Regions from separate parts of the Homo sapiens genome. Here region 1 is linked to region 2. The links are contacts of gene promoters, found by promoter capture Hi-C in blood cells and fetal thymus (Javierre and others, 2016). All regions are on one chromosome and are shown on one strand. Each heading gives the region's core, a stretch centred on a gene start or on the middle of the fragment in contact. The rest is flanking DNA. Distances are from core to core; before and after follow the strand shown. Region 1 overlaps GPR176 (G protein-coupled receptor 176). Region 2 holds the start of PAK6-AS1 (PAK6 antisense RNA 1).

What was found. The method cuts DNA at HindIII sites, captures the fragments that hold promoters and counts their contacts. A CHiCAGO score of 5 or more calls a contact.
Region 1: a contact is called between a fragment that was not itself captured here and the fragment with the promoter of PAK6-AS1 in region 2, in 7 of 17 cell types (naive B cells, total B cells, activated CD4 T cells and 4 more). The highest score is 10.5, in naive B cells.

Annotation. Positions count from the first base shown.
Region 1 is chr15:39,800,098-39,802,949 of GRCh38, reverse strand. It overlaps GPR176 (G protein-coupled receptor 176), which reads left to right. Exons shown (of 3, transcript NM_007223.3): 3 at 696-2,852. The coding sequence ends at 1,818. Among named protein-coding and RNA genes, the nearest start is that of FSIP1, 19 kb to the right of the region's middle. The HindIII fragment of the contact is 2,359 bases long and covers 270-2,628 here.
Region 2 is chr15:40,251,278-40,254,251 of GRCh38, reverse strand. It overlaps PAK6-AS1 (PAK6 antisense RNA 1), which reads left to right and starts at 1,293. Exons shown (of 2, transcript NR_168270.1): 1 at 1,293-1,594; 2 at 1,713-2,974. It overlaps BUB1B-PAK6 (BUB1B-PAK6 readthrough), which reads right to left. Exons shown (of 10, transcript NM_001128629.3): 2 at 963-1,074. It overlaps PAK6 (p21 (RAC1) activated kinase 6), which reads right to left. Exons shown (of 11, transcript NM_001395430.1): 3 at 963-1,074. RefSeq lists a silencer at 1,222-1,311. The HindIII fragment of the contact is 18,506 bases long and covers 1-2,974 here.

The DNA of each region.
Region 1 (2,852 bases), core at 200-2,699, 450 kb after region 2:
CTAATTGTGCAGGCATTTTAGACCTATTAATTGCCCTTAGGGTTACTGAGTGATTATCATGGGAGCAATGACTGTTGAGCAGGCATAACTTTTGTCAGCTGAATTGATTTTTGTGGAAGGACCTTGTCGGAGTCCATTCTTCATACTGGTTCTTCTGCCCTGAACAACTTTAATTGTTAATGATATCTGGACTGTGGCATAAGTCTGCTTTAGATATGTGTGTAGACAAACTTATTTCTGTTGGTAGCTTTGAAAATTGCCCTAAAGCTTCTTTAGCCCATATAAAATTGTTTACCAATTACCCTTTACCCTCAAATTGAAAAGTAGATATCTTTATAGCAGATGGAGAAATCTTTTATATGGAGGGTACTGTTTGCGATTTCATCCTGGTAGCAATAATTATAAAGCTAGCTATGAATTGAAATTATTTACTTGTTTTCCTGTAAAGCCTCATGAGGACAGGTTTGCTGCTCCTTTGGAAAGGTTTTTATTTTTTGGTCTAGTGACGCTTCTTATTGTACTTGCAAAGTCCTCAAAACTTAGGTCTGGCTTCCTGGATTCCCCCAGTGCTTTTCTGTCTTAGGCCGAATAGAAGAACTTGACCTTTCTTCCCTCTCATCTACTTTTGGTGATTTAGGTTCCCCTAATTTAAAAAGTATCTTCTGTGGAATTAATTTTGTTTGTGTATCTTGCAGGTACTACTCAGTCCTCTATCCACTGGAGAGGAAAATATCTGATGCCAAGTCCCGTGAACTGGTGATGTACATCTGGGCCCATGCAGTGGTGGCCAGTGTCCCTGTGTTTGCAGTAACCAATGTGGCTGACATCTATGCCACGTCCACCTGCACGGAAGTCTGGAGCAACTCCTTGGGCCACCTGGTGTACGTTCTGGTGTATAACATCACCACGGTCATTGTGCCTGTGGTGGTGGTGTTCCTCTTCTTGATACTGATCCGACGGGCCCTGAGTGCCAGCCAGAAGAAGAAGGTCATCATAGCAGCGCTCCGGACCCCACAGAACACCATCTCTATTCCCTATGCCTCCCAGCGGGAGGCCGAGCTGCACGCCACCCTGCTCTCCATGGTGATGGTCTTCATCTTGTGTAGCGTGCCCTATGCCACCCTGGTCGTCTACCAGACTGTGCTCAATGTCCCTGACACTTCCGTCTTCTTGCTGCTCACTGCTGTTTGGCTGCCCAAAGTCTCCCTGCTGGCAAACCCTGTTCTCTTTCTTACTGTGAACAAATCTGTCCGCAAGTGCTTGATAGGGACCCTGGTGCAACTACACCACCGGTACAGTCGCCGTAATGTGGTCAGTACAGGGAGTGGCATGGCTGAGGCCAGCCTGGAACCCAGCATACGCTCGGGTAGCCAGCTCCTGGAGATGTTCCACATTGGGCAGCAGCAGATCTTTAAGCCCACAGAGGATGAGGAAGAGAGTGAGGCCAAGTACATTGGCTCAGCTGACTTCCAGGCCAAGGAGATATTTAGCACCTGCCTGGAGGGAGAGCAGGGGCCACAGTTTGCGCCCTCTGCCCCACCCCTGAGCACAGTGGACTCTGTATCCCAGGTGGCACCGGCAGCCCCTGTGGAACCTGAAACATTCCCTGATAAGTATTCCCTGCAGTTTGGCTTTGGGCCTTTTGAGTTGCCTCCTCAGTGGCTCTCAGAGACCCGAAACAGCAAGAAGCGGCTGCTTCCCCCCTTGGGCAACACCCCAGAAGAGCTGATCCAGACAAAGGTGCCCAAGGTAGGCAGGGTGGAGCGGAAGATGAGCAGAAACAATAAAGTGAGCATTTTTCCAAAGGTGGATTCCTAGCAAGGATTGTAAATTCTTGGAAGCAACGGGGAGCTTCCATATTCCCACCAGAGTGTGGGAATGCTGTGGCCATGTGATTGTATGATCTCCTTGCAACTCAGTGTGAGTTGATTCCTCCAATATGGGCCAGATGCTTTTGAATGATAGGGAAATCTACATAAAATCCAGTGTCCTCTTTATTGAGGGAGTATATGTATCCATCTCAGTGATCCATGTCCTTAGTGAAGTCCACATTATTCTCTGTGGGGACAAGAGCTGGGCAGTTTTGAATGGGTCTTGAGGTGGGTACCCCATGTGCACTTTCTGAGGATGCCTCACTTCCCTGGGCTCTGCAGAGAACACACAGAGAGAAGACTTTCAGAGCTCACAGGAGCAGGGAGCAGGAGCACTCTAAGGGAATTCCAAGATCATGATGGAGCATGGTGGCTCCAGAGAAAATGCCTGTTTGATGAACTTAAACATGTCAAACATTTTCTGTTGAGAAGGTAGGGATTTGGTGTCTTACACTGTTTCTCTGGAAGCCCCAGTCATATGACTCACTGTTTCTCCTGATACCCTTCGTCCCTTTCATTGGGATGTAGGTAAGGAATGACGATTCCTCACCTATGGTACACATGGCGATAGATGTGCCCGGGAGTAAGGGAGATATTTTGTCCTTGATAATTCTGATTTTCCCTTGGCATCACCAACGCCTCAGAGAGATACACCTGCACCCTCCAGTCAGGGTCAGTGTTGGCTGGAAAACACTGAAAAGTCTTCGCTCTGTCTTTCACCTTAAATTGTGTTTTCTCAACAAATGAGAGAGAAGCTTACGGGGGAGATGCCTGAGAGATGCCTATGGCGCTGTAGTTTTTTTTTCTTCCCTATGATCTCACATGAAAGGTGCTATGTAACAACCAGTATGAGTCAAATATATTGAAAAAATCATCTTATGCAAACTTTAGGAATTAAAAGGTATTTTTAAAATGGAGAGTTAGTGTAAGCTGGGTCCTTTGGAAACATCAAACTGAAAAGGCCTGATTTGGAAAGGTGAC
Region 2 (2,974 bases), core at 44-2,543:
AGGCAGTTACTCCCCACAACCGCCTAATGAGGAGGAAGGCATTCGCATTCCCATTTTACAGATGAGGCCATTTATAAGTTTGTAGAGAAGTGAAGCAACTTGTCTAAGGAGTCAAAGGCAAAGTCTGGATAGATTCAAACCCCACTCTCTTCGGTTCCAAATGTGTCTTCGGCCACTGTCCTATATACTATGGAGGAGAATTCATGGCACTGCAGGCTGAACCTCACCTTGCATGGAACCAGGCGTTTTCTTATCCAATGCGGCAACCTATGCCACACCGGCCACCAAAAACGAGCATGGACACAGACCTGAGCCCCTCTGCCCCCTTCACCCAGAAAAACAAGTCAGAAAAGCCCCCAAAAAACCACCAGAATGGGGCAAGATACAGAAAACGCAACCTACACCCTGGGAGCTCTTCATGGCTTAGCCTCCAGTGCTCCCAGCAGCACCTACACTCCAGATCGGATGCCACCTGAGCAGGTCTGGAGATCTGGGGAATGAGCGGTGGGCTGGGATGTGTGGAGCGGCAGCTTCACCTGTAACTCCTGCGGGAGTCTCCCACGGCTGCCTCCCACCCTGCCCTGCACAGCCACTGGGCCTGCCACCACCCTTCCTGTTTGGGAACCTCTTCCCCGGCATGAATTCCCTGCACTCTGCCGCGGTGACACCCTCACCCAGGACAGGCATCAGACCTGAAGATGGGCCCGGGGGCAGGGCGGGCCATTTGAGGTCTTGACGTCTACCAGCCTACCGTGGGGCCATGGGGCAAAGTGGTGTAAGTGACTTAACATGCACCCACTAAGGATCGAGAGACGGCACCTGGAAGGGACCACCTCCGCTGCCTAGCAGTACCAGGAAGGAGCCAGCCCAGGAGGGCCACCTGCCTGCCCACTGTCCCTCCCTGCCTGCTCTTCAAAATGGGTGCAGAAGGCTCTAGGGCCGGGGGCCGCTCGCTCACTCACCTTCCGGCGCCTTCCGCCTCTTCCTCGCGACTCCTCACCCGCACTGGGCCTCTCTCTTAGGCGCTGAGGAGAGGGAAGACCTGGGACCTTGCTGGGCCAGTCCTCCGCAGGCCTGCGCGGAAACAGATCAGAAATGCATTATGGCAAATGTAGCAAGTGTTCCCGCGGGTGTTGCGACTGGCTGACGTCCAGGCGCTGGGAACCGCTCCGCGCCCGCCTCCCGACTGAACTCCTGGCTCAGGTGCAAGAGGCGGCAGGCTCCTTGCGGGGCTTACGGGGAGAAGGGGACGTTGGGCGCAGCACCGCTTCCGGGGCGGCCCCTCTCCAGCCACACTCCGACCCGGCGCGGCCACCCGGCCCCAGCTCGCAGGCCCCACTGCTGCGCCCTCTCGGGGACGCGAATGCCCCGCGCCGGGCGGGCGCCCGCGGAGGGAGGTCCCGCTCCAGGGACGCGGAGCTCCAGATGCCTGCGCCCAAGGCCCCTCGCCTGGCGCCGGCTGGTCCCGAACTTCGGGGCATGGGCACCCAGGAAGGGGGCTGCGCGTGTTGGGAGGCCCGTCCTCTCGCCGCGAACCTCCGGGGCAGCCGGGGAACCCACCTGCGGAGCGGGAAGCCCAGGAACGCTCGAAGAGGTCGTGGGAGCCGGGCCCGCCCTCCGCGGGAGGGACCTCGGCGCGGGAACGCCGAGGAGGGGCCGCGCTTACACGTTGGTGCAGCGCCGGCTTCACCTGACCGCGATTTTGATTTCAGGGTGTGGCCTCAGGTAGGACGCGGCGGCGAACCCAGAGCGCGGGAGAAGTTGCCAAGTGTCGCTGGGGCCTTGGCCAGGAGCCCCTCTGCCCGAGGGGCGCCGTGCTGCTCAACTCTTTCTCTCCACCTGCTTGGCCCCAGTTCCCGCCCGCCCTTCGCCTCCGGGCCCTGGCCTGGCCACAGCCGCGGGGACCTGCCTGCGGCTCCACGGCCCAGTGGCCGCCTCGCGGAGACCCGACCTGGAGAATCAGCTGAGCGCCGGCTGTGTGTAATCACCTCGTTCACTGGCATCGCAGATGCACGCTCCAGAGCCGCGGGCCGACTCTCCCGGACCTGAGCGGGCCGCGTGTGCCCACCCACACATCCTGGAGAGCCCACGCGGGAGTCGGAAAACCTGTCACCTTGGATGATCTGTCCCATGTGGACAGGGCCCCAAGACTGTGCTGGGGTAGCCCCTTGCGCAGGCAGGAAAGCGGGATTTAAGGGATTCCAGTTCCCTTGTCAGCCCTTGCGCAGTCCTGAGTCCTGAGGACTTTCTAGCCTGAGAGTCCTAGGGCAGGAGACCCGCACCCCCAGAGCGGCTAGGGCCTGTTTCGGAGCCCCTCCGCCTGTGATTTTGTCCCAGAGTCGGCATCCTCTGCTTGTCCTCAGCAGTCCCTGCCTAAGATCAGAATGGCCATTCCAAGGGGCTCACTCCTGGCTGCCCCTGTGCCATGTTTCTTTTGGGGTACAGGGTGTTTTCTATACTGGGGGAAGGGACAGGAATCACTCATCTCTTCCCCAGATAAAGAAGTGAGAAGACCTTTGCTCTCCTTGTCTTGGGCCCCCAGAGAAAGGCTGTGTTCTGGCTGAGTGCTGAGGAAGTTCTGGCTTGGAAACTCAGTACATGTGGACTCCAAATGGCTGCCGTCAAGTGGTGGCTGGGTGACTGCCAGTGTCACAGAGCGGGGACCAAGGACAGTGCAGGGATTTTAAAAATCATTGTTGGGCACCTCAGACTTCAATGATTAACTGAGGTCACTATGGCCACTTATTTTTGTTCACTGATTCTTTAGACGCATCAATCTACTCACGGCTCAATCTTTTGCATTATAGGCTGTATTGGTTTCACACAATTTACTCTAAGGCGCCCACCTAATAGAGCTCAGGCAACCCGTGGGAACCTGACAGTCCCAAACAGGTCTGTACCCTGTGTGGCTGCACCACAAGCCCAATGCCCTCGGCTTTCCTAGGGAAAGCATGGTGCCAGGTGCAGATGCTGG